Linked DNA regions of Homo sapiens: regions 2, 3, 4, 5, 6 and 7 are each linked to region 1. The links are contacts of gene promoters, found by promoter capture Hi-C in human tissues and cell types (Jung and others, 2019). All regions are on one chromosome and are shown on one strand. Each heading gives the region's core, a stretch centred on a gene start or on the middle of the fragment in contact. The rest is flanking DNA. Distances are from core to core; before and after follow the strand shown.

What was found. The method cuts DNA at HindIII sites, captures the fragments that hold promoters and counts their contacts. A contact is called where the count stands out against the background at its distance.
Region 2: a contact is called between a fragment that was not itself captured here and the fragment with the promoter of ZFP90 in region 1, in 6 of the 25 tissues and cell types used here (IMR-90 fibroblasts, aorta, dorsolateral prefrontal cortex and 3 more).
Region 3: a fragment that was not itself captured here is called in contact with the fragment with the promoter of ZFP90 in region 1 in 3 of the 25 tissues and cell types used here (liver, lymphoblastoid cells and spleen).
Region 4: a contact is called between a fragment that was not itself captured here and the fragment with the promoter of ZFP90 in region 1, in 3 of the 25 tissues and cell types used here (lymphoblastoid cells, mesenchymal stem cells and small bowel).
Region 5: a contact is called between a fragment that was not itself captured here and the fragment with the promoter of ZFP90 in region 1, in 4 of the 25 tissues and cell types used here (IMR-90 fibroblasts, aorta, dorsolateral prefrontal cortex and 1 more).
Region 6: a fragment that was not itself captured here is called in contact with the fragment with the promoter of ZFP90 in region 1 in 7 of the 25 tissues and cell types used here (H1 embryonic stem cells, bladder, dorsolateral prefrontal cortex and 4 more).
Region 7: a contact is called between a fragment that was not itself captured here and the fragment with the promoter of ZFP90 in region 1, in 4 of the 25 tissues and cell types used here (hippocampus, lymphoblastoid cells, mesendoderm cells and 1 more).

Annotation. Positions count from the first base shown.
Region 1 is chr16:68,537,119-68,541,065 of GRCh38, forward strand. It overlaps ZFP90 (ZFP90 zinc finger protein), which reads left to right and starts at 2,173. Exons shown (of 5, transcript NM_001305203.2): 1 at 2,173-2,361; 2 at 2,640-2,707. The coding sequence starts at 2,675. The HindIII fragment of the contact is 20,432 bases long and covers 1-3,947 here.
Region 2 is chr16:69,032,973-69,036,919 of GRCh38, forward strand. All of the region lies in intron 16 of TANGO6 (transport and golgi organization 6 homolog), which reads left to right. It also overlaps the pseudogene RPS2P45. Among named protein-coding and RNA genes, the nearest start is that of HAS3, 71 kb to the right of the region's middle. The HindIII fragment of the contact is 4,241 bases long and covers 1-3,947 here.
Region 3 is chr16:69,013,557-69,017,503 of GRCh38, forward strand. All of the region lies in intron 15 of TANGO6 (transport and golgi organization 6 homolog), which reads left to right. Among named protein-coding and RNA genes, the nearest start is that of HAS3, 90 kb to the right of the region's middle. The HindIII fragment of the contact is 8,154 bases long and covers 1-3,947 here.
Region 4 is chr16:68,989,076-68,993,022 of GRCh38, forward strand. All of the region lies in intron 15 of TANGO6 (transport and golgi organization 6 homolog), which reads left to right. Among named protein-coding and RNA genes, the nearest start is that of HAS3, 110 kb to the right of the region's middle. RefSeq lists an enhancer at 1-368. The HindIII fragment of the contact is 4,563 bases long and covers 1-3,947 here.
Region 5 is chr16:68,942,353-68,946,299 of GRCh38, forward strand. All of the region lies in intron 14 of TANGO6 (transport and golgi organization 6 homolog), which reads left to right. Among named protein-coding and RNA genes, the nearest start is that of TANGO6, 100 kb to the left of the region's middle. The HindIII fragment of the contact is 7,830 bases long and covers 1-3,947 here.
Region 6 is chr16:68,825,512-68,829,458 of GRCh38, forward strand. CDH1 (cadherin 1) reads left to right here. Exons shown (of 16, transcript NM_004360.5): 14 at 2,663-2,793. Among named protein-coding and RNA genes, the nearest start is that of TANGO6, 16 kb to the right of the region's middle. The HindIII fragment of the contact is 4,654 bases long and covers 90-3,947 here.
Region 7 is chr16:68,808,922-68,811,472 of GRCh38, forward strand. It overlaps CDH1 (cadherin 1), which reads left to right. Exons shown (of 16, transcript NM_004360.5): 6 at 1,276-1,420. Among named protein-coding and RNA genes, the nearest start is that of TANGO6, 33 kb to the right of the region's middle. The HindIII fragment of the contact is 3,618 bases long and covers 1-2,551 here.

The DNA of each region.
Region 1 (3,947 bases), core at 923-3,422:
GTTGTTGTTGGGCTTTTTTTTTTTTGAGACAGAGTCTCCATCTCTCACCCAGGTTGGAGTGCAGTGGTGCAATCTTGGCTCACTGCAACCCCCACCTCCCAGGTTCAAGCGATTCCCCTGCTACAGCCTCCCAAGTAGCTGTGAGTACAGGCGCACGCCACCACACCCTGCTAATTTTTGTATGTTTAGTAGAGATGGGGTTTTACTATGTTGGCCAGGCTGGTCTCGAACTCCTGACCTCAAGTGATCTGCCCCCCTCAGCCTCCCAAAGTGCTGGGATTACAGGCGTGAGCCACCATGCCCAGCCTGCAGTTGCCTTAAGTTGCAGCTACTAAGTCACTTGCCTCAGAGAGGCCTCCCGGTCCACTCTAATTCATACTTGTGAATTATGCATTCTGCTAATTCCAGACCACTATATTCACAAAGCAGTGATAGAAAGCATTCATTAATTTTTATATATATTTTTTGAGACAGTCTCGCTTTGTCGCCCAGGTCGGAGTGCTGTGGTGAAATCACAGCCCACCACAACCTCTGCTTCCCGGGTTCAAACGATCTTCCCACCTCAGCCTCCCAAGTAGCTGGGACCACAGGCGCACACTATTGCAACCAGTTAATGTTTGTATTTTTTGTAGAGACAGGGTTTTGCCATGTTGCCCAAGCTGGTCTTTTAATTCCTGGGCTCCTCCCTCCTCAGCCTCCCTGTGCTATTGACGTGTTATTTCATTACTTGTTAGCCCCTTGCGCAGGATTTTGTGTTTGGGACAAGCCAACAGTGATGGAAATTTTCTCCCTTTTTTGTTTTGTTTTTTTTGAGATGGAGTTTTGCTGTTGTTGCCCAGGTTGGAGTGCAATGGTGCAATCTCGGCTCACCACAACCTCTGCCTCCCAGATTCAAGCGATTCTCCTGCCTCAGCTTTCTGAGTAGCTGGGATTACAGGCATGCGCCACCAAGCCTGGCTAATTTTGTATTTTTAGTAGAGACGAGCTATCTCCATGTTGGTCAGGCTGGTCTCGAACTCCTGACCTCAGGTGATCCGCCAGCCTCAGCCTCCCAAAGTGCTGGGATCACAGGCTTGAGCCACCGCACCCGGCATAAAGCATTTATTTTTGAATGTTCATATTTTTGATAAAGCAGTGTGACATCAGGAACATTTCGTTGCAGTCATTTTCTACCATGTTGGTATGCAATGCTCTAATGTTAAGAAATCAAGCTGAAATCTAGGAAATGTAGCCTGAATGTCTGTGATATATAAGACATAATTACATAAACGTAATAGCTGTATCTAAAAGTTGACCTATCTTTGTGTTGAAAATTTCCATCGGGCCGGGCGCGGTTGCCCATGCCTGTAATCCCAGCACTTTGGGAGGCCGAGGCGAGTTCGAGACCAGCATGACCAACATGGAGAAAACCTGTCTCTACTAAATATACAAAATTAGACGGGCCTGGTGACGCATCGCATGCCTGTAATCCCAGCTACTCGGGAGGCTGAGGCGGGAGAATCGCTTGAACCCAGGAGGCGGAGGCTGCGGTGAGCCAAAATCGCGCCATTGCACTCCAACCTAGGCAACAAGAGCGAAACTGTGTCTCAAAAAAAAAAAAGAAAATTTCCATCATTGTTTGCTTGTCCCAAACAAAATCCTGCGTAAGGGGATACGAAGTAATGAAATAACACGGCAGTAGATCTGCCTTTGCACATTGCTCAGGAGGCCACGGATTTGTCCGAAGTTTCTTTTTTCTCTAAAATGAGAAATGGAAAATTGCCTTTTGAAGAAGATGTAAATGCCCCACCCTCTGACGCTGTCTCACTCCCTTCCTGTGTCACTCTTACCGCTGAAGTCAGGACCTGACATTATCTTGTTGACATGTTTGCGTTTTTATCGTCAGCCTCGTCGAAAGGGGCGTACGATTGCTCCCCGAAACCAGGGTCTTTCCCGGCCGATTCCCCAGCTAGCAACAAGCCCCTTGCAAAGAGGAGGCGGACAGTGACTGGAATACAGGGACACGCACACTCGAGCCACACTGGCCGCCTCCCTCGGCCCTCGCAAGGGTCCCTAACGCGCCTTCGGAAGCCGCCTAGGCGGGGCCTGCGCGCGCGGGCCTCTGGGAAGTGTAGTTCGCGCGCCCGGCGTGGACCCGGGGTTGCAGGAGCGAGGCTCCGAGTGCGCAGGCGCACTTCCAGTTCTGCCCCACCGCTGCGGCCATTGTCCGACCCCGGTGCGGCTGAGGCCCCTTTGGGCAGCCCCTCCGCAGATCAGAATTGGAGATAACCGAGGCTTCGGCGGGGGCGGGAGGAGCTGCCCGAGGCTCTGGGTGGGCCGGAGGTCGCGAAATCCGGAGCCCCCCAGAGGCGGTGATTCTGAGTGCGCGGGTCTGGGCGGGACCCCTCCTGGGTTTGGCGGGTGTCAGCCGGGCCTCGCCCACCACCCTGCGAAGGGGACTGGGCGTGGCCGGAGGGGGGTGTCCGGGAGGCCGCTGAGCCTTTCATTTCGGGGATGGGGAGCGGCAGGCCCGGGCTGGTTCCACGGTCCTCGCCACCATCTCCCCTGGAGATGTGGTTTAGGGGCGGAGGTGGGGCGGGGCGGGGCGGGGTGGGGTCGGTGTTGCAGCGGGGTGAGTGGGCCCTGTCCTTTCTCCCCAGCTCCTGCCCCGGAGCCGGGCCCTGGCGAGGCAGGAATGGCCCCGAGGCCTCCGACCGCCGCGCCCCAGGTGAGCAACGCGTTCCTAACCTCCTGGGCATCCCATCCATCTATCCATCCCATCTCCCAAGGGTGTTTGGAGCAGTCATTGTTCTCTGCCTGGCGACTCCCTTACTTGCTTGGCTCGATCGGAGCCTCCTGGCCATGGAAAACCCCAGGCTTTGGGGAGCTGGATTCCCAAAGGGGAGGCTGCTCTGTGGGGTAGAGAGGGCCAGTGTGGTGCGATCTTGTGGGAGGAGTTGAGATTGGATGCGTTGGGAAGTGTCAGTTTTGAGAGTCCTGAATGCCACGCCAGTTTTTTGAACTCTTGTCAATAAGAAATGGAGAGAGTGGGGTCACAGGATGGAACACTGTAGAGGAGGAAGTGACTGTCGGCAAGTGTGGAGAGAGGAGCCCCAGCTTCTGACCCAGGGCCCATAGAGAGTCCGTAAGGGGCCGTAGAAGCCTGGTTAGAACATGTCTAGGAAGAGGCTGGAGATGGGCTTTCTTGGGCAAGGAGGCAAAAACAAAACAAAATAAAAAACAACCAAAAATAAAACCAGGGCTGATTCTCCCAGAGCTTTTTGTGTCTGTCCTTTTCTGCTTTAACAAAAATGTAATAGAGCAACTCACTCCCCACCGCCAGAAGTCCAGCCTTCACCTTAATGTGAGGCTGATTCGTGAACCCATTTATTCTTGTGGCAGAGGGGGCATTTTCTAGAAGCGTCACAACTCTAAGGTTATCCATTGATTTACATATTGGTGAAAATACATCAAGATCCAGATGGTATCTGTATCTTTGAATCTACATTCTCTTTAGAATTAAGGGAAAATGACAGATTGTAGTTGCTAGGTGTGTGAGACATCAAGATCAATTCAAATAAAAATACCAAGTTGCCAGGTACAGTGGGTCACACCTGTAAGTCCAGCACTTTGGGAAGCTGAGGCAATAGGATCGTTTAAGCCCAGGAATTTGAGACCAGCCTGGGCAACATAGTGAGACTCCGTCTCTGCAAAAAAAAAAAAAAAAAAAAAATTTAAAAGATAAAAACACCAACTTAGTAATGTCCTTTAAAAGAGCAGTTTATAGTGAATTAAGCATACAATACATCATGCCTTTTTTTTTTTTTTTTTTGAAACAGGGTCTCTTGTCACCCAGTCTGGAGTACAGTGACATGATCTTGGCTCACTGCAACCTCTGCCATGGTGCACGCCACCATGCCCGGCTAATTTTTGTATTTTTTGGTTTATTTTATTTTTTGAGACAGTCT
Region 2 (3,947 bases), core at 785-3,284, 500 kb after region 1:
GTCAGGAGTTCGAGACCAGCCTGGTCAACATGGTGAAACCCCATCTCCACTAAAAATACAAAAATTAGCCCCGTGTGGTGGCAGGCACCTGTAATCCCAGCTACTCGGGAGGCTGAGGTAGGAGAATCACTTGAACCCAGGAGGCGGAGGTTGCAGTGAGCTGAGATCACACCACTGTACTCCAGCCTGGGCAACAGAGAGAGACTCTGTCTCAAAAATAAGTAAATAAAATAAAAAGTTACTGTGGCTTCTTCTAGGACAGTTCTTTCAGTGTACCATGAAAGCTCTTGAAGTCTCAGAATTGCTTAGTTCCAGGGTGTGCTGGTGGAGAAGGAACTTGAGCTTTGGGAAACTTGTCTTTGCGAACAGAAGGAATTCTCCTTCGTGAGCATCTGTTATCTGGCAAGTATGCTAGAAGACACAAATAAAGGACCCAATCTCTTCCCTTAAGGAAGTCTCAGTAACTTGTGTGAAACGCAGAGGAGTAAATCAACAGTGGATAGGAGTGACACGATAGAGCCAGCACCAAGCTCTGGGGGACCCAGAGCTGGGACCCTGGGTTAACTTGTCAGGGCATCAAGAAGGTTATGTTGATCAAGTGTTAGCCAGGCAGAGGAAGAGAAGAAGCATAATCTATTTTGAGATAAAATTGAACAGCTTCCTTTCTGAGAAATCACCAAACTGGAGGATAACGCCAATGTGGCGGGAGGTCCTGGAGGCCCTGGGGACCCTAAATGGAAAACTGCCATGGCTTCCTCAGAGGCTTTGGTAGCAGCATGCAGGACTGGGCTCGCAGCCATGGTCAAGGCTAGAGCTGAGGCTGTGGAACTCACAGAGACATGACTGAGGACAAGGAGTGGATACCCATCACCAAGCTGGTCCCTCTGGTCAAGGATATGAAGATCAAGTCCCTGGAGACCTATCTCTTCTCCCTGCCCATCGAGGAGTGTGATATCATTAGCTTTTTTCAAGGGGCATCTCTCATGGGTGAGGTTTTAAAGATTATGCTTGTGTAGAAACAGACCCACACTGGCCACCGCACCAGATTCAAGGCATTTGTTACTGTTAGGGACTATGATGGCCACATCAGTTTAAGTGTTAAGTGCTCCAAGGAGGTTACTACTGCCATCCAAGGGACCATCACCCTGGCCAAGCTTTCCATTGTCCCTATGCGGAGAGGTTACTGGGGGAACAAGATCGGCAAGTCCTACACCACCCCCTGTATGGTTACAGGCTGCTGTAGCTCTGGGCTAGTACACCTTATCCCTGCCCCCAGGAACAATGGCATCATCTCGACTCCTGTGCCCAAGATGCTGCTGCTGATGGCCGGTATTGACAACTGCTACACCTCAGCCAGGGGCTGCACTGCCACCCTGGACAACTTCACCAAGGCCACCTTCAATGCCATCTCCAGGACCTATAGCTGCCTGACCCCCAGCCTCTGGAAAGAGACTATTCACCAAGCCTCCCTGTGGAATGCACTGACCATCACATCAAGACCCACACCAGAGCCTCCATGCAGAGGACCCAGGCTCCAGCTGTGGTTACAGCATAAGCTTTCATACAAGAATAATAGTGAATTACACCTGTTAAAAATAATAAGCAGAAGAAAATGAAATTGAACAAACCAGCCACCGTAGTCCCTTCTAAAGCGACGTGGTCTGCGGGCATCAGTGCCCTTCCTCTCTGGCTATAGCTCTTCGGCATCTGAAGAAAGTTATCCTAACTATTGGGTGATCCAGATTTGGGCACTGTCTGCTATGATGATGCCAGCTGGTCGGGAAGGAATATAAAGTATAGGCTCAACCCTTCCACAGTCACTGTACTGGGAATTCAGGCTTTTCCTCTCTGTTGATGTCAAGAATTAACCTGTAGATAACATTCTTTTTTTTTTCTTTTTTTTTTTTTTCAATTTTTCCTTGTTCTTGTCAAAGGCTGTGTCGCTTAAAACCAAATCTTGATAGATTCTTCATCTTTATCACTCTCTATGAGAAGTAAATATGATTTAAGTGAACCACAGTGAGAGGCCTGTCCTCACTACAGCAAATAAGATGTGTCCCAGGTGACAAGTCCAGTCTCCTTTTAACATGGTGCCCAGAATTCCACATACCTGAGCTTTGGGGGCTGATACAAAGCCACTGCCTCTGATCCCACGGAATGACCTGAATTTACTATCAGTTTTGCCACAATCAGTGCAGTTTGAGGATACGTAGACCCCTGAGATGAGGCCTGAGATAGATGTTCTGGGAAACCCCAAGGAAGCTAAAGTACCTGCCATGGTTTCTTTCATGGCAGGTTGAGTAAGCCAAGCTCCTGAGAATGATTGGTCACATTGTCTTTGCTGTTAAGGTTTCTTGGTTTACAGATGGTGAAGTTGCAGACAAGTTAGCAAACCAACTGAATTTTAATAAAGGAAGCTTTAGGAAAATGGATGAAGATGCAGTTGGAAAATTAAAGTCATGCTTCCTTGATACATACCTCAATTCTGGCAACTTCTCACTTGGAATTTTCCAAAGTCAGTTTTTGGTAATCTTGCCATTTGTATTATCTTTATTTATATAGTTCTGGTTATGCTTGGTGTGTGCCAGCTGTTTTGGGAGTGATGTTTTTCCTTATTTCTCTTGGCTCCTGTTAAGTGTTAAATTGCTGAAACTGACCTTTAATGCTTCCAAAGCAATCAGCATCTTTCTCTCTGGATGGCTTTTAGAAGTGGACACAGTTTACTGATTTAGCCAGTGAAGAGAAAGCTTTCCATAGTGTGGTTTACTCAGAGCAGGTGACAAAAGGATGAATTTCTGGCTGGGCCCAGTGGCTCACGCCTATAATCCCAGCACTTTAGGAGGCCAAGGTGGGCAATCATTTGAGGTCAGGAGTTTGAGACCAGCCTGGCCAACATGGCAAAACCCTATCTCTACTAAAAATACAAAAATTAACCAGGTGTGGTGACAGGCACATGTAGCTACTCAGGAGGCTGAGACAAGAATCACTTGAACCCGGGAGGCAAAGGTTGCGGTAAGCTGCGAGCATGCCACTGTACTCCAGCCTGAGCTACAGAGCAAGACTCTGCCTCAAAAAAAAAAAAAAAAAAAAGAATGGATTTCTGCCCTCTGAGAGGACTTAGAGTATAGAAATAATACACCAGTTCATCATCTATCTATCTCACCAAGGCTTTTAGAGGTAGAACTCAGTGTTCATTATGTCGTTGGGGTTGGAGGTGAGAGACTAGCCGTGAAGTGACTTTTCCAGCCTGGATACATAGAAGAGAGTGGCCTACATCCTCCCCACTTCTAGTGTTGGACAAGGGGTCTGTCCCATTGGTCTGCTGGAGAGCAGCATTACAAGCTGGTTATGGGTGCTTGACCTGAACTGAAGACTGTTCTTATATTTAGATGATATCCGTAAGACCATATTAAAATTCCGATGCTCAGAAAGCATTTTGCGTGACAGACCATTATACATTTCACATGATTTGGTCCTGGTGACAGAGGGGTTGAGGAAGTTTCCCAAATGCTCTTCTGTTCTCGGGCCTCTTCCTGATTGTCCTGGATGGCTGACTGCAGATGGGTTTGGTGGAGTCTGGCGCATAAGTCACTAACAGCCCGTAGCAAGCAGGAGGCTATTTCAGCTGATCTCAGCAAGGCTTGTCATAACTAGCTCCTCTCTCAGTCATACCTTCAAGGTGGCACAGGGATTCAAGAATTGGCCTTGACCGGGGTGCAGTAGTTCATGCCTGGAATCCCAGCACTTTGGGAAGCCGAGGCAGGCGAATCACTTGAGTCCAGGAGTTTGAGACCAGCCTGGGCAACATGGCAAAACTCCATCTCTACAAAAACTACACAAATTAGCTATGCGTAGTGGTACACGCCTGTAGTCCCAGCTACTCCGGAGGCCGAGGTGGGAGGAGTGCCAGAGCCTGGGAGGTGAAGGCTGCAGTGAGCTGAGATCAT
Region 3 (3,947 bases), core at 1,028-3,527, 480 kb after region 1:
CAATAAGCCGTGATTACACCACTGCACTCCAACCTGGGCGACAGAACAAGACCCTGTCTCCAAAAAAAAAAAAAAAAGGCGGGGTTGCCTTAAGTTCCTTTTTTTTTTTTTTTTTTCCGAGACCAGGTCTCACTCTGTCACACAGGCCAGAGTGCAGTGGCACAATCTTGGCTCACTGCAACCTCCACCTCCTGGGCTCAAGCAATTCTCGTGCCTCAGCCTCCCGAGTAGCTACGACCACAGGCATGTGCCACCATGCCTAGCTAATTTTTTATATTTTTAGTAAAGACAGAGTTTCGCTGTGTTGGCCAGGCTGCTCTTGAACTCCTGAGCTCAGGCAATCTGCCTGCCTTGGCCTCCCCAAGTGCTAGGATTACAGACGTGAGCCACCGTGCCTGGCCCCCAAGTTCCTTAGTTTTGACAAATCTAACTTTTTTGATGTTTCATATTGATAGACATAGGATTGACATTGAGGTATTCTACAACTTTATATATGAAGAGCATTCCAGTTTTCATATATCAGGATGCTTTTGGCTGCAAGTAACAGAAATTCCCAACTCAAGTGGCTTAACAAAGAATGAATTATCACACATAACAAAAATTCCAGGATTGCTAATTCTCTAGCTCAGTGACATCATTGAAGACCCATATTCTTTTCATCTTTCTCTGTCAACCACAGCTTATGGGCCTTATCCTTTAGTTCCTCATGGTTTCAAGTTGGTTGCAGCAACTCTAAGGCAACCCTAATTCATATATCCTTATGATAGCCAAAGGCAAAAAGTTTTCTGAGAGTCTTCTAGCAGACTTTCCTTCACAACTCCTTGTCCAGAACTGGGTCACATGCCCATGCCTAAACCAATTAAAGCAAAGGGAGATGTCCACCACGATTCACTTAGACCAATGGAAACTGTAGCCTGAATCACATGGGGAGGGATGGCGACAGGTGGATACTTGAACAAAATTAATGTACTGTTTGTAAGGAAAATTGGGAAAATGCCAGTGAGATGTATACAAAATTTGACATAGAGGAATCCCTAAAGCTCAAATTAACCCCTGGGCTGGGCACAGTGGCTCACACTTATAATCTCAGCACTTTGGGAGTCTAAGGCAGGAGGATCACTTGAGCCCAGGAGTTCGAGACCAGCCTGGGCAACATAGCAAGGCCCAATCTCTGTAAAAAAAATTGTAACCAGCTGGGCATGGTGGTGTGCATCTATAGTCCCACCCTACTCAGGAGGCTAAAGCAAGAGGATCTCTTGAGCCCAGGAGTTTGATTCTGCAGTGAGTTATGATTGCACCACTGCACTCTAGCCTGGGTGACAGAACAAGACCTTGTCTCAAAAAAAAAAAAAAAAGAAAAAGAAAAGACAAAGAACCTCTTATGTAGGATCTTAAAATTCAATGCCTATGCCAAATTGCAGCCCTGGAAGATTCTTTGACTATGTGCATTCATTTTGTTCTCCATAGAAACCAGTTCAAGCCAACTCCCACCTGGAGACTAGGGTACAATACAGTCCTGAGACCTCTATCACAAGATCAGAAGGGAGGGAAGATTAGTCAGAGGGTAGCAGAGCCCCAAGAAATGAAGGCAAGGTCATAAATCCCCAAAGAAGACCAGGTTTGAGCCAAGTATGTGACAGATCTAGGCTATGTATGTGAGGCCTAAGAGAGGTCCAGTCTCGGAGAACGTGGAGGCAGGGGCCCTTTGAGAAATGCAGAGTGGATGCAGTGAGTGTTCCAGTTCTTCCAGTCCAACACTTGGAAAACAAGGTAGCAAGTGAGCCCAGAGCCAGCTGACCAGGTACAATGCAGGGTCTGAGATGCTGACACTCCCACTGGCTTCTTGGGTTCTCAGATGTAGCTGGGATGGGTTGATGGAGCATGTAGTTTAACAGATGCTCATTTTATTTTATTTATTTATTTATTTATTTATTTATTTATTTTAAACAGAGTCTTGCTCTGTCGCCCAGGCTGGAGTGCTGTGGCATGATCTCGGCTAACTGTAAGCTCCACCTCCTGGGTTCACGCCATTCTCCTGCCTCAGCTTCCCGAGTAGCTGGGACTACAGGCGCCCGCCACCACGCCCAGATAATTTTTTGTATTTTTAATAGAGACCGGGTTTCGCCATGTTAGCCAGGATGGTCTCGATCTCCTGACCTCATGATCCGCCCCCTCTGCTTCCCAAAGTGCTGGGATTACAGGCATGAGCCACCGCACCTGGCCAATGGATGCTCATTTTCAAAGGAGTGCTGGAGCTCAGTTAGGGCAGGAATTTACATAAATGGAACGTTAAGTTGCAGTTTTGTTAATATAGTGATATGCTCTTGACTTATATGGCCAGTCAGTATAAGAAACAGCCGTATGATTCCTGCATTGAATATAAAGCTTCTATTGCCCACTCTCTTCTTCACTTTTCCACCAGGCCCTCACATGCCTTGTTCCTTGAGGTCTTCTCCTCTGAGAGCTCTTCCCTGAGCCCTCACCCACATTGTCAACTCCCCCGCTCCTTATTTTTTTTCATAGCCTTCATTGCTGCTGGAAATTTTATTATTTATTGTCTTTCTTCCCCGCTAGAAGTAGGCTTCATGAAGATGGGAGCTTTGATTTCTTGTTCATGCCATATTGTCCTCAGTACTGAGAACATTGGCACATTGGAGTACTGTGGGCACTCAATTAAGATTTGCTGGATCAATTAGCCAGGCGTGGTGGCACATGCCTGTAATCCCAGCTACTTGGGAGGCTGAGGCAGGAGAATTACTTGAACCTGGGAGAGGGAGGTTGCGGTGAGCCGAGATTGCGCTGTTGCATTCCAGCCTGGGCAACAAGAGCGAAACTCCATCTCAAAAAAAAAAAAAAGATTTGCCGGATGAATGAATGAGATACCTCTTAGTGTCCTTCCTGAAGTTTCTCTCTCTTCATGATGTTCCTTCTTTTATTGGATAATGAGAGCTGTGTTTTCTAATTCCTTTTTTGCCTTAGCTACCAAGAATTGTAAAATTAAACTACTAAACTCTTGGTTTATTTGCAGTAGCCATTCTTAGCTTGGGATGTCTGCACTTCTCTCACTTACTGTAGAGGTTTTAAAATATTTATTTTATGTATTTTATTTTATTTATTATTATTATTTTGAGATGGAGTCTCTACCCAGGCTGGAGTGCAATGGTGCGATCTCAGCTCACTGCAACCTCCGCCTCCTGGGTTAAAGCTATTCTTCTGCCTCAGCCTCCTGAGTAGCTGGGACCACAGGCAGGCACCACCACACCTGGCTAAATTTTTTGTATTTTTAGTAGAGATGGGTTTCACCATGTTGGCCAGGATGGTCTCAAACTCCTGACCTCAGGTGATTCGCCCACCTCAGCCTCCCAAAGTGCTGGGATTACAGGTGTAAGCCACCATACCCAGCCTAAAATGTTTATTTTAATGACACATGGTTTCAACGTTATTTATTGTAAGTTGCTTCAGATCCTGTGTGGAAGTAAACGAAGACTGAATAATAAGTGAACTAATTGAAGGGTAACAGGGAGTAGTGAAAAAAAAATGAACACACTTTAGAGTCTGAGCAAATAAGATAATACTGGAGCTGTTGTTAATAGAATAGAAACCAGATCAAACATTACTCATAAAAGTCCCTCTCTGTCACCATTTTGGCACATCTCACTCCATTGTTATTGCTTGGTCAGTATTTTTCCTCTTCCCCATTAGGTTTTGCCATGAGGGTAAGGACTGTATCTTTCTTGCTTATGATTAGTCCCCCAGGGCCCAGCACAGTGGCAGACACATAGTACACACTTAATCATTATTTGATAAGTTAATATGCCTTTTCTTTATCATTTATTTTTAACTATAAGCCACTATATTAGTAAACATTAAAATGTTTCTCCTGTGTTCTTACCCTTTTCAACCTGCAATTTCCCCTGCTTGTAGATTCCAAACTTCCTTCATTTTTT
Region 4 (3,947 bases), core at 793-3,292, 450 kb after region 1:
TGGTCTTGAACTCCTGGGCACAAGTGATCTGCCCACCTTGGCCTCCCAAAGTGCTAGGATTACAGGCATGAGCTACCACGCCCAGCCCATGATTCTTAATCTCCATTTTTGGCTTAATAGCTCTACTTCTGTTTAATTTTTAAATTTTCATTCTAGGACTTTACACATATATTAGATTTTTTTGTTCTTGTTCTTGTTCTACAAGAACAGGCTCTGTTCAATTTTTTTTTTTCAATCTTTTTCTCTCTCTTTTTCAGATTTAATAGTTTCAACTGATCTATCTTTAGGTACATGGACTCTTTCCTCTGTCATTGCCATTTCACTGTTTAACTCATCCAGTGAATATTTTATTTTCGATATTGTATTTTGCATTTCTAGAATTTGTAGTTGGTCCCTTTCTCTTTTTTTGTTGAGATTTCCTCTCTTTTTGTTCATTAGAAGTGTATTTTCCTTTATTTCATTAAGCATAGTTATAATAGCTGCTTTAAAATCCTTATCTGATAACTAAAATATCTGGGTCATTTCAGTGTTGGCCACTGTTGATTGTCTTTTTCCTTGAAAATGGTTTATATTTTCACATAATTAGAAGTTTTGGATTCTGTACTAGACATTATGAATATTATGTTGCAGAAACTGTGGTTTCTGATATAATACCCTGAACAGTGTTAAATTTTTGTTTCAACAGGCAATTAACGTAGGCTGAAATGGCAAACTTTGTCATGCCTGTGGTGGGCAGCAGCTCAAATCTCAGTTCAGTTCTTTTAGCCTTAGCTGCTGCTTTGAGTCTACTCTATGCATGGTGAATTTTAGCACATTTTTCTGAGATCCAAGAGATAAAATAGGGGACTGTATTCACCCACCTGAATCTTTATCTTATTCATGATCTTCGTCCTGCTTGTTTTCTGCTTTGGAGTACATAAAATTAAAAGAGATGAAATCTTATTCTCTCTCTTTTTCTCTCTTTCTCGCTCTGTGTGTGTGTGACTCTTGCTCTGTCACTCAGGCTGGAGTGCAGTGGTGCGATCACAGCTCAATGCAGCCTCAAACTCCTGGCTCAAGTGATCCTCCCACCTCAGCCTCTTGAGTAGCTGAGATCACAGGCATGCACCATTACACCTGGCGTATTAGTCTGTTCTCCCGCTGCTAATAAAGACATACCCGAGACTGGGTAATTTATAAAGAAAAAGAGGTTTAATGGACTGACAGTTCCACATTGCTGGGGAGGCCTCACAATTATGGCAGAAGGCAAGGAGGAGCAAAGCCACATCTTGCCACATGGTGGCAGGTAAAGAGAGAATGAGAACCAAGCGACAGGGGTTTCCCTTTATCAGATCTCATGAGACTTACTTATTACCACGAGAACAGTATGGGGGAAACCGCCCCCATGATTCAGTTATCTCCCACCAGCTCCATCCCACAACAATTGGGAATTATGGGAGCTACAACTCAAGATGAGATTTGGTTGGGGACACAGCCAAACCATATTACCTGGCTAATTTGTTTGTATATTTCGTAGAGACAGGGTCTCACTATGTTGCCCAGGCTGATCTCAAACCCCTGGACTCAAGTGATCCTCCCACCTCAGCTTCCCAAAGTGCTGAGATTATAGGCATGAGCCACCATGCCTGGCTACCATTCTCATTCATCATTGAACTCAGACTAGGTTCCATGGCCTGGCTTAGCTCAGGGAGTCAAGATCATGAAAGGATACATATGCTGTGTTAATGGATTTGGAGTTTATGTTGATTTTATAAAATGGGAGCCATTGAAAGACTTTAAGGAGGAAAGAAGTAATAATAATTATATTCTGGCAAAATTACTTCGGTCACTCTGTGAAGGATGACTTAGAATGGGACAAGACTTGAAGCAGAGAGACCTATTAGGATGTTGTTGGGGCAAGAGATGATGGTAGATCTCGAACAAAGGCTTACACGTGATAAAGACAGAAAAAAGATGTCCCCAGATAGGAAAGAAAGCATAAGAACAAAACAGAAGTGGGATGTATATGGTGAGAATGAAGAACTGAGACTTAACCTGTCCCTCTGTTGAGGCTGTGTTGGGTACCTTGGAGAAGAAAGGCTAGATAGACAGGGTAGAGCCATACCACAGACAGCTCTGAGAGCTGAGCAGAGGAGTCTAGACTTGCCATGATGGCCATTTGGGAATCACTGTAGATTCTTAAAGGAAACAGCATGATGATAAATGTATAGGTATGTGGTTGGCAGGGACATGAAGGATGCTGAAGAAAGGAGAGCCTGGGCTGGGCATGATGGCTCATGCCTGTAATACCAGCACTTAGGGAGGCTGAGGTGGGTGGATCACTTGAGGTCAGGAGTTCAAGACCAGCCTGGCCAACATGGTGAAACCCTGCCTCTACTAAAAATAGAAAAAGCTACTAAAAATAGAAAAGGAAAAATTAGCCAGGTGTGGTGGTGCACTCCTGTAATCCTAACTACTCAGGAGGCTGAGGTGGGAGGATTGCTTAAACCTAGGAGGGAGAGGTTGCAGTGAGCCAAGATCGCACCACTGTACTCTCCAGCCTAGGCGACAGAGTGAGATTTCATCGATAAATAAATAAATAAAAATACAAAAATTAGATGGGCATAGTGGCATGCATCTGTAATCCCAGCTACTCGGGAGGCTGAGGCAGAAGAATCACTTGAACCCGATTAAAGGGAGGCAGAGGTTGCAGTGAGCCAAGATCGTGCCACTGCACTCCAGCCCGGGTGACAGAGCAAGACTGTCTCGCAAAATAAAAATACAAAAGAAAGGAGAGCCTGGAGCCGGAGAGAAAGCTGGGAGGTGGTTGTGGTATTCCTTGACACAAAGAGATGAGGATTTTGGTTAGAGGAATGGCTGTGAAAATGGTGAGAAAATGTGAATACTATAGGCAATTCAGAGGAATAAATGAGAGACCATCATCCTTTTTTTTTTAAACATTTAGTGAAAACGGGGTTATAATCCACCCAGCAACTATTCTCACAGAACTATTGAGAGGCTCAAATAAAGTAATATATATGAAATCGCTTATAAATATATGAGTATCATCACAGAGATCTATTTATCACTATATTTAGTCTTCTAGTAGGGTTGCCAGATATCAAAGTGGGGAGGTGGGACCATCTACAGTGGCAGCCACTGGGCAGGTAAATAAGAATTCGACATATGGACTTAACTTTGAATGCATTTTAGTTTTCTTTAACAGAAGTGCTATCTGTGACCCTGGAGTCATAACTAACTGGGTTTTGATCTCGACTCTAACCTTTAGTAGCATGGACAAGTTATATAACTTCTTTGTTCCTTATCTGTAAAGTGGGGATAATTCTATTAAATATCTGATAGGATGGTAATGAAATTAAATAAGATAATTTATGTTAAGTGTTCAGAACCAGTGTCTTTCATGGTAAGGGGTGAATAAATGTTGGTTGCTATTTTTTTGTTGTTATTTTTGAATGAATACCTCATATTGCTGCATTATGCCAAGGCAAAAGCCAACCCTAGTAAGTAGCCCTTCAGTTGAGTAAAATGTGCGATCATCCTGTTCTACTCCAGAGAAAAATCCAAGTACATGTATTTGTTTCTGTGACAGCCGTTCCTTGTTTGCTTTTCAACAGAGATTCTTTGGAAATTACTCATCTTTCCAAGTCATTCTTATGTCCTTTTTCCCTCTCAAATCAAGCTTTGTATTCTATGTTAAAAAAGCAGAAATCTGGCCGGGCACGGTGGCTCACACCTGTAATCCCAGCACTTTAGGAGGCCAAGGCAGGTGGACCACCTGAGGTCAGGAGTTCAAGACCAGTTTGACCAATATAGTGAAACCCCGTCTCTACTAGAAATACAAAAATTAGCTGGGCGTGGTGGCTCGCGCCTGTAGTCCCAACTACTCTGGAGGCTGAGGCAGGAGAATCGCTTGAATCCGGAAGGCGTAGGTTGCAGTGAGCCAAGAT
Region 5 (3,947 bases), core at 1,067-3,566, 410 kb after region 1:
ACCTTAATCCTTTTAAAGCTCAGTTTTTTAAAAGTGATCAAAAACATAAGGCAATGCAGAAAATTATCATGGTAAAATGTAAAGTCTTTTTCTTTACCGAAAAGGTAAAGAAAAACCTCTTACAGTGTGATTGTTTTTTCTAAAGGGAATCTCATTTAGATAACATGGAAATCAAACCTGATGAAAAGATTGTTTGAATTTAATCTGACATAGGAAGAATGGGTCTAGGTTATAAGAGTAACAATTTAGATACATCAAGGAAAGTGAGGAATACAGAATCAAATTATATTGGAGGAAAACATTGCTTTTTTAGGCCATTAAGATAAACACTTTCATGTCAGGCCATAATGGCAGAGTTAGAACTGGAGAAAAAGTTCAGGAGCTGATGACAAAGTTGAAGGAGAGAGTTATCATCTCAGGCCTTTTTAAGGGGAGAAAATGCTAAATGCAGTGATGTATGACCTATAAATCACAAGTAGCAAGATACTGCAAAAGTCAAGCCTCTGAAATATGAATCTGAGAAATTTTATTTCATTTATTTAATTTTTAATTTTTTTTTTTTTTTTTGAGACAGGGTCTGACTGTCACCCAGGCTGAAGTGCAGTGGCACAATGTCAGCTCACTGGAACCTCCACCTCCTGGAGTTCAAGCAGTCCTCCCACCTTAGACTCCCGAGTAGCTGGGACTACGGGCATATGCCACCACACCCAGCTAATTTTTGTGTTTTTTGTAGAGACAGGATTGTGCCATGTTGCCCAGACTGGTTTCAAACTCCTGGGCTCAAGCAATCAGCCTGCCTCAGTCTCCCAAAGGGCTGGGATTACAGGTGTGAGCCACTATGCCTGGCCTTATTTATATTTATATTCTTATTTTTATTTTTTATTTCTCTTTTTTTCTTTTTTTTCTTTATTTTATTTTATTATTTTTATTTTTTGAGACAGGGTCTTACCTTGTCACCCAGGCTGGAATGCAGTGGCATGATTAAAGCTCACTGCAACCTGAATCTGAGAATTTTTTTTTTTTTTTTTTGAGACAGAGTCTCGCTCTGTCACCCAGGCTGGAGTGCAGTGGCGCAGTCTTGGCTCCCTGCAAGCTCCGCCTCCTGGGTTCACACCATTCTCCTGCCTCAGCCTCCCGAGTAGCTGGGACTACAGGTGCCTGCCACCACGCACTGGCTAATTTTTTGTGTTTTTTAGTAGAGATGGGGTTTCACCATGTCAGCCAGGATGGTCTCAATCTCCTTACCTCGTGATCTGCCCTCCTTGGCCTCCCAAAGTGCTGGGATTACAGGCGTGAGCCACCGCACCCGGCCAAGATATTTTTTTTTTAACAGTGTCTGTAAAGTATTGTCTTGGTCTCAATTTTTTGCCCTTTAAGATAAGAATCTCCTCATTCCTTTTAGTATGGAAAGGGGGTCTTTTATATGAGAATTTTATTTTTTGCTTTTAAGAAACAGCACGAAGGTCAAAATAATATTTTTTAAAATATCTGCTAGTTTTTACGTGTTTTTTACTTAAATTGTCAGCATGCCAGCCTAGCTGAGGAGTTTTGGAAAAAGAGAGTTAGCTTAGAGCAAGAGAGTAAGAAGGAATTCTAAGAAGGGGAGGGGCAAGCTCCAAAGAGGAGAGTCTCAACCAACTTTGAGATAGTATTTTATAGCTAGTCAGTCTTTGAGTCCGGGTTGGGTTTGGTTTTTTTAGCCTAAAGATATCCCTTGAGATATGAGTCTTATTTGGAATGTATGATTTTATTGCCATGGTCTTTTAGTTTAGTTTTAAGAACAACAGACTGCATGATCCCTGTAATGTTTGAACATGTTACCAGCTGGAATCTCAAAATATATCTTGGCATGTCTTTGAACTTTGAGAGCCCATTTGTAATTAAACTTATCTAGGTGACTCAGTTTAATGTTGAATATACAAAAGCCAATTAAATGCAAGTGTTGAATATGCAAAAGCCAAATAAACACAAGTGCTGATGGAAAATAAAGTATGTACTTACCAAGAGGACGATCAGCTGCCTTTCCCAACTGAAGGGAAAAGGAAAAATTCTTTCACCCAGGCCTCAACCTGGAGGAAAAATATCTCTTCACTCAGACCTCACAGCTGAGGTCTGCCAGGAGGAAAAGAGTCCTCCCCAACAGATGATCTCCCAACCAGAGAGAGACCCCCCTCCAAATAAGAGGAGGAAAGACCCTTCTCTAAGCAAATCCCAAACAAAACAGAACTTTACCCAAAGCAGGAGTGCCATCCAGGAGACTCACCAGGGAACACCTAGCTGACTCGTGGGAGAGAGGGTGCTCAAAGGCCCTCAATGTGAGTACCTTATGTCATAGTTCCAAGGGCCGATGATTTTTCCCAAGGTGAGTCAGGTTTGGAATCCCACTTCTGACACCACATATGTCAAAATCAAATAAAATATAAGGACAAATCTCTAAATTTAAAACATTTTGCAGAAGCAAGAATTGCAATTCAGGGCATACACAGACAGGGTGGTCTTCCATATGTCTGAAGAACAAAGATAAGTTTAGAGGTTTGGCCGGGCACGGTGGCTCACGCCTGAGGCAGGCAGATCACTTGAGGTCAGGAGTTCGAGACCAGCCTGGCCAACATGGTGAAAACCCATGTCTACTAAAAATACAAAAATTAGCCAGGTGTGGTTGTGCACACCTGTAATCCCAGCTACTCTGGAGGCAGGAGAATCACTTGAACCCAGGAGGTAGAGGTTGCAGTGAGCTGAGATCAGGCCACTGCACTCCAGCCTGGGTGACAGGGCGAGACTCTGTCTCAAAAACAAAAAAGAAGAAGAAGAGGAAGAAGTTTGGAGATTTTATAAAAAGGAGAAATGTTACATACTGTTCCAGAAAGAAAGTTCATTGGCACTGTAAAGTTCTGAGCAGCTGACAAGCTCTGAGGAGTGACAGTGGTGGGTAAAACTAGTCTTAGAGTTGCAGCAAGTTTGTTTCAGTAGCTAAGATAAAACTGGTTTTAGGTTACTTTTTTAAATTTCTTTTTTATTTTATTTTTTTTTAATTTCTTGGTTTTAGGTCACAATAGGGAGTTTCAGCAGCTGGGCTTGTAGGGAATTATACTTTTGGGGCAATATTATGTGCACTGCGTGCTTTGTTTCCCTGGCCTCTCAACTCTTAGGTGGGTATGACAAAAATGACCAAATTTGTTTGATCAGCTTTCACATAGCCACCCTAATGGGTGTGAAGGGGTATCTCATTGTGATTTGATTTGCACTTCACTCATGACTAGTGATGTTGAAGATCTTTTTATGAGTTCATTGCCCATTTGTAAATCTTCATTAGAGAAGTGTCTATTCAGATTCTTTGCCTTTTTTTTTTTTGAGATGGAGTCTCACTCTGCTGCCCAGGCTGGAGTGCAGTGGCATGATCTTGGCTCACTGCAACCTCCACCTCCCAGGTTCAAGTGATTCTCCTGCCCCAGCCTCCTGAGTAGCTGCGATTACAGATGCCTATCACCACACCCAGTTAATTTTTGTATTTTTAGTAGAGACAGGGTTTAGCCATGTTGGCCAGGCTGGTCTCGAACTCCTGACCTCAGATGATCCCCCGCCTTGGCCTCCCAAAATGCTAGGATTATAGGCGTGAGCCACTGCGCCCAGCCTCTTTGCCCATTTTTAATTTTTTTTTTCCTTCCTATCATTGAGTTATAACAGTTCTTTATACATTCTGGAGAAAAGTCCTTTATCAGATGCATGATTTGCAGATATTTTCTGCCATCCTGTGGATTGTCTTTTCTCTTACATAATGGTGTCATTTGAAACACAGAAGTTTTTACTTTCAATGAAGTCTAATTTCTGTTTCTTCTTCTTCTTCTTTTTTTTTTTTTGACACTGAGTCTTGCTTTGTCGCCCAGGCTGGAGTGCAGTGGCACGATCTCGGCTCACTGCAAGCTCCGCCTCCCGGGTTCACGCCATTC
Region 6 (3,947 bases), core at 1,167-3,666, 290 kb after region 1:
AACCTTCCAGAAATGTCTGCTGGGCATCCCATTTGCTTCTGCCCCCTCCTGGTGTCCTCCCAAAGTTGAAGAAAAGGATAGTGCTGTTGAGAATTGAGCAAGCCTTCTGGACTTTCATCCTGCCAGGCTTTACATGGCTTTATTGTGCCATGAGATTAGGTTAATTCATCATTGCCTTGGGCAGGGTAACACAAGCCCTGCCTGCCCACTTCCTAGTCAAATTACATTTCAGTGGCCTGGTCTGCTTTTGGTATAGTGGTTACTGACCAGTACATTCATTCTAAAGGGAATCTTTTTTTTTTTTTTTTTTTTTTTTTAGGCAAGTTCTCATTCTGTGGGCCCGGCTGGAGTGCAGTGGAGTGATCTCAGATCTCAGGTCACTGCAGCCTTGACTTCCGGGGCTCAGGCAATCCTCCCACCTCAGACCCCTGGGTGGCTGGGACCACAGGCATGAGCCACCACACCCAGCTAATTTTTTAATATTTTTTTGTAGAAACAGTGTTTCCTTATGTTGCCCAGGCTGGTCTCAAACTCCTGGTCTCAACCAGTCCTCCCACCTTGGCCTTCCAAAGTGTTGGGATTATAGGCATGAGCCACTGTGCCCAGCCAGGGAATCTTAAAGATTGTAGTTATACTTGAAATATTTTTTTTTTAAATAGGATTACCTAAATTTGCTATGGGTATGTATTTTTTTAGACACTGGGGGTGGGGATTCCCATGTAGAGCAACATTTAAAACAGAGGCAATGCCAGAGTTCAGATGTTCAATTTCAATTTCTTGTATTTTTAACTTCTATGATTATTTTTTCTTTCTTTATTAGAGATGGGTTCTCACTATGTTACTCACATTGGTCTCAAACTCTTGAGCTCAAGTGATCCTCCCACCTTGGCCTCCCAAAGTGCTGGGATTACAGGTGTGAGCCACTCCTCCGGCCAATTTCTTGTTTCTTAAGGGCACAAATGTGCTAGAGGCTGGGCACGGTGGCTCACATCTATAATCTCAACACTTTGGGAGGCTGAGGTGGCAGGATTGCTTGAACCTAGGTTTCAAGATCAGCCTAGGCAACATAGCAAGATCCCATCTCTATTAAAAAAAATTACTAGAGAGACACCAGGAGATCTGAAGCTTTTCATGTTTTCCGCCAATGTTTGATTGCTTACTCTGTGCCAGGCTTTTTCTCAGAGCCTGCGGATACTGGGCTTCTGGCACAGCTGATAAGAGGGGTCATTTTGGAAACGGTAAACTGCCTCTTGCTTTGCATGGATGGGGACTGTGTAGCTCCTATAGTCTTGTTCAGTGCTGTCTCCCTGTGCAGCCAATTCAGTGTTCTTGTTGATGAATCATGGACAAGGGAGTTATGCTGTTTATCTGGATAAGGTTTCTGGCATTTTTCTGGTTTTAGAAATAGGTAGTTGAGGTACATCTGAGAAATCTTTTCCCCAAGTTTATGCAACCTCCTGTTTAAAGATTATGCTTCGGCCGGGCGTGGTGGCTCACGCCTGTAATCTCAGCACTTTGGGAGGCCCAGGTGGGTGGATCACTTGAGGTCAGGAGTTTGAGACCAGCCTGGGCAACATAGTGAAACCCTGTCTCTACTAAAAATACAAAAATTAGCTGGGCATGGTGGCAGGTGCTTGTAGTCCTACCTACTTGGGAGGCTGAGGCAGGAGAATCACTTGAACCCAGGATGTGGTGGTTTCAGTGAGCTGAGATTGCGCCACTACACTCCAGCCTGGGCAACAGAGTGAGACTCTGTCTCAAAATAATAATAAATAAATAAATAAATAAAGATTATGCTTCATAGGGTACAGTATATAGGTACTTGGGCACCCATGGATAGAAAACACATGGAATCTTTTTTTTTTTCATTCACAGTGAATAATATATGTATTTTCTAAGTTAAGTGGTTTCTTTCTGGCTGCTTTAGAGATTTTTTTTTTAAAGTTAAATGTTAATTGTGTATATCCTAGAAATAATCCCAAGATCAAATGTAACCCTTGTGTTAAGCCTTGGAAGTTAAATAGATTTTAAAGCTTGCTTACATGATTCTATCTTAAGAGAAAATAAGAACATACCAGGCAATTTTATAGTCTCTGTCCCACTCCCCATAGCTGGTTATGTATCAATCACATTTGGGCTAACCTAGGAGCCCTGCTCACAAACCTTCAATGGCTCCAACTCAGAATCAAAGCCAAAGTCCTCACAGTGGCCCATATGTCCCTCCCGCCCTGCTTGCCCCTCTGAGCTCTTCTCCATGTCTCTTCCCCTCATGCACCCTGCTACAGCCATGCTGGCCTCCTCACCTTCCCTCCATCACACCAAACATGCTCCTCCTGCCTCAGGACCTCTGTCCTTACTGTTTCCTCTGCCTGGAACACTTTCCCCCAGATTTGGGAAAATGACAGTGATTGAGTTTAAAACCCATCTGAAAGTTAAGGACCATGCTTGAGTTCACATATCACTGTCTACTATGTTGTACTGTACATACCGACTTCAGGGATGTGAGTGTCACGTGGATTGACATCTTCAAGTGTATTGAAGGCAGCTAGTGGCTGTCTAACTGCCCCCTGTCTGGTATGAGGGGTGCTCTGTGATAGCTGCTGCTTCTGGCCTTCTTTATCTTTGGCTCTCAACACTTGCTCTGTCTCCCCCACCATCCCAGTTCTGATTCTGCTGCTCTTGCTGTTTCTTCGGAGGAGAGCGGTGGTCAAAGAGCCCTTACTGCCCCCAGAGGATGACACCCGGGACAACGTTTATTACTATGATGAAGAAGGAGGCGGAGAAGAGGACCAGGTGGGTTTTGAAAACCTTGGTAGCTCAGTGGTGATCTCTTTATTCGGAAGAAGCAATGATTAGTAAGAGGTAGGCATTTGAAACAGCTCTGAATCACTTTGGATATTATCTTTTTAAGGCCTTACCCAAGAAAGTAGACATTGTCATTGACCATCATCATCATCACATCATCACCAACACAGCTAACATTTATTGATCGCATACTGTTCTGCACCTCAGTGAGCGAGCTGAGGCACAGAGAAGCTCAGTAACTTGGCTAAGGTCACACAGCTAGGAAGCGACAGGGCTAAATGGTCTGTCTCAGAGCCTGCCTTCCTCATTGCCATTCTCTGGACGTGAACTTCAGCCAGATTCTCTTTGACATAGAACAACTGGTCTGCTTTGTTTCTTTTGAGTTTTTAGCTAGACCAAACTCCTTTTCTGTCATGGTTATACCTTCAGTCCCTCTGTATTTCCTGATTTTGGAGATGATCTTAACATCTTACCCTGGAGTTGTCCAGGGAACTGTTCAGTGTCTTGGAGAGCCTACTTATTATAGAAAGGGATCCATGGGGGTCTATTACAGAGTCCTGTTTTTGACTGAGGCCACAGAGTGAGGCACAATTTACTGAGCTCCATACAACATAGGGAGGTGGGTGTACAGAGAAAAATATTGTTCTAGATTTCAGGGACTTGTAAGTCTAGTTTGGGGATACCACGTATATTGTATCAGTGAGCAATAGAGCAACCAATCGTGGAATCTCAGCGGCACACAACATGCGTATCTTTCTCATGTACCGTGGGGTAGCTGGAGCAACTGCTGGTCTCATCTAAGCTCATGAGAATCTGTAGGATGGCTGGGGCTCAGCAGATTTAGGCAGAGTTTAGCTGAATGGCTCTAACCTGTGAATTGTGTCCAGGTCTGTTCCATGCAAGTCTCATCTTTGTACCAGAAGCTGGTGCCTTTCAGACCTTTGCCTGTGTCATATGTTACTGTCCCATTGGCTAAGCAAGTCACACAACAAAGCCCCAGATCGATGGATGTATACTTTTCTCACAAGCTGGGGTTGGGAGGGAGTGAATATTTGCCAAACAGTGATCTAATCATCATGTCCTATGAAAATTAGTAAGGCACACAGCCTATATCTGGATCCACACATGCTACTCACAATCCT
Region 7 (2,551 bases), core at 1-2,500, 270 kb after region 1:
TCCGCAGATCAGAGGCTCTGAACACATGAGGAGCTTAACTTGACACCTCTTGACCTGTTGCTAAGGAGAAGTGATGGGAGAACGTGGGACAGTTTGGGGTTGTTAATTTTTCTCCTTGTCAGGAAGAAAGGAAGGAGAATCCGCATGCATCCTCATACAACCAGGACAAATTTAGACCCAAGATGTCAACCTGTTCTTGGGGCTGGAAGTCCCTGACCTAAAGGAACAGGACAGTGATGATATAAGGGAGCAAAACCCATTTCTTGGGCTTGGCAGCAGCAAGAGCTTAGGAAAACCAAGAGGTCTTTTTTTTTTTTTTTTGAGATAGGGTTTCACTCTGTCACCCAGGCTGGAACCACAACCTCCACTTCCCGGGTTCAAGTGATTCTCCTGCTTCAACCTCCCGAGTAGCTGGATTATAGGCAGCTGCCATCATGCCCAGCTAATTTTTTGCGTTTTTATTAGAGATGAGGTTTTACCATGTTGGCCAGAGTGGTCTCAAACTCCTGACCTCAGGCGATTCACCCTACTTGGCCTCCCAAAGTGCTGGGATTACAGGAGGGAGCCACTGCACCCGGCCTACAAGAGGTCATTTGTTTTTGTTTTGGATTTTTGTTTTTTTGAGACCGAGTCTACCTGTGTCACTCAAGCTGGAATGCAGTGGTACAATCTTAGCTCACTGCAGCCTGGACCTTCTGGGCCCAAGCGACACTCCCACCCCATCTTCCTGAGTAGCTGAGACTAAAGGCGCAGGCCACCACACCCAGTTAATTTTTGTATTTTTTGTAGAAACAAGATCTTGCTATGTTGCCCAGGCTGGTCTTGAAATCTTGAGCTCAAGCAATCTGCCCACCTCGGCCTCCCAAAGTGCTGAGATTACATGAACCACTATGCCTGGCCAGGAAGTCATATATTGATGCCAAATTCAGAAATATCTGGGGGAAATGCTAGACTAAAAGGACCAGAGCAAGTTTCACCCGGCATGGAATAAGAGTTTTTCAGGCCCGCATCTTCATCTCTAGGCCTGATGCCCTGGTCCTCGTGTGGGAAATGGGAGGTCTGAGCCGTGGGGGGTGTTCTCCAGCCCATGGCTCTTACCTTGTTATAATCTCACTGAAGCAGCAGCAGCACATGTGTGAGAAAAGTCACCCACTGGGGGTCTCAGAGCCTAGGAAGGTGTGGCAGCCAGGGGGGCGCACTCTGCTCTGGCTGGGCCCCTTCTCCCATGTTTTCTTCCTCATCAGAGCTCAAGTCACCCTCACTTGGTTCTTTCAGCTCTTCTCTCACGCTGTGTCATCCAACGGGAATGCAGTTGAGGATCCAATGGAGATTTTGATCACGGTAACCGATCAGAATGACAACAAGCCCGAATTCACCCAGGAGGTCTTTAAGGGGTCTGTCATGGAAGGTGCTCTTCCAGGTATATCCACTAATGAGAATCTGAATACTCAGAAAGACTCTTAGGTTCTTTGGACCCCAAAGTGTTGTCCAAGCCCAAAGGTTGTGTAACTAAAGCTGATCCTTCCTACGGACAGAACTTCTTGGCAAGCCATTGTTGTGTTATATGCATGTGTGTAACAGTCTACCTGTGGAAACATATAAAATAGGGAGAGTTTAAGAACAATCTTCCCTTTTTTATTATTAATTTTTTTTTTTTTTAGGCTGGGCATGGTGGCTCATGCCTGTAATCCCAGCACTTTGGGAGGCCAAGGTGGATGGGTCACCTGTGCTCAGGAGTTCAAGACCAGCCTGACCAACATGGTGAAACCTCGTCTCTATTAAAAATACAAAAAAATTAGCCGGTCGTGGTGGCGGGGGCCTGTAATCCCAGCTACTTGGGAGGCTGAGGCAGGAGAATTGCTTGAACCCGGGAGGCGGGGGTTGCAGTAAGCTGAGATCACGCCACTGCACTCCAGCCTGGGTGACAGATCCAGACTCCGTCTCAAAAAAAAAAAAATTTTTTTTTCAGAGACAGGGTCTTGCTTTGTTGTCCAGGCTACTTTCAAACTCCCGGGCCCAAGCAATCCTCCCACCTCAGCCCCACAAGCTGCTAAGATTATAGGCATGAGCTACTATACCTGGCTAAGAACAACCTTCCTAATTAAGGAACAGATCTTTACCAGTACCTTAAAGCCCTAAACAATCCCCCTTGGTCACATTCTTTTCTCTCCTCCATAAAGATAACCACACCCTAGGCTGGGTGTGGTGGTTCACACCTGTAACCCCAGCACTTTGGGAGGCCAAGGTGGGCAAATCACTTGAGGTCAGGAGTTTGAGACCAGCCTGACCAACATGGAGAAACCCTGTCTCTACTAAAAATAGAAAATTAGCTGGGCGTGGCGACGCATGCCTATAATTCCAGATACTTGGGAGGCTGAAGCAGGAGAATTGCTTGAACCCGGGAGACAGAGATTGTGGTGAGCCGAATCACGCCATTGCATTCCAGCCTGGGCAACAGGAGCAAAACTCCGTCTCAAAAAAAAAAAAAAAAAAAAAGATAACCACACCCTGACTTTTGTGGTAATCATTCCCTTTCTTTTCTTTATTACCA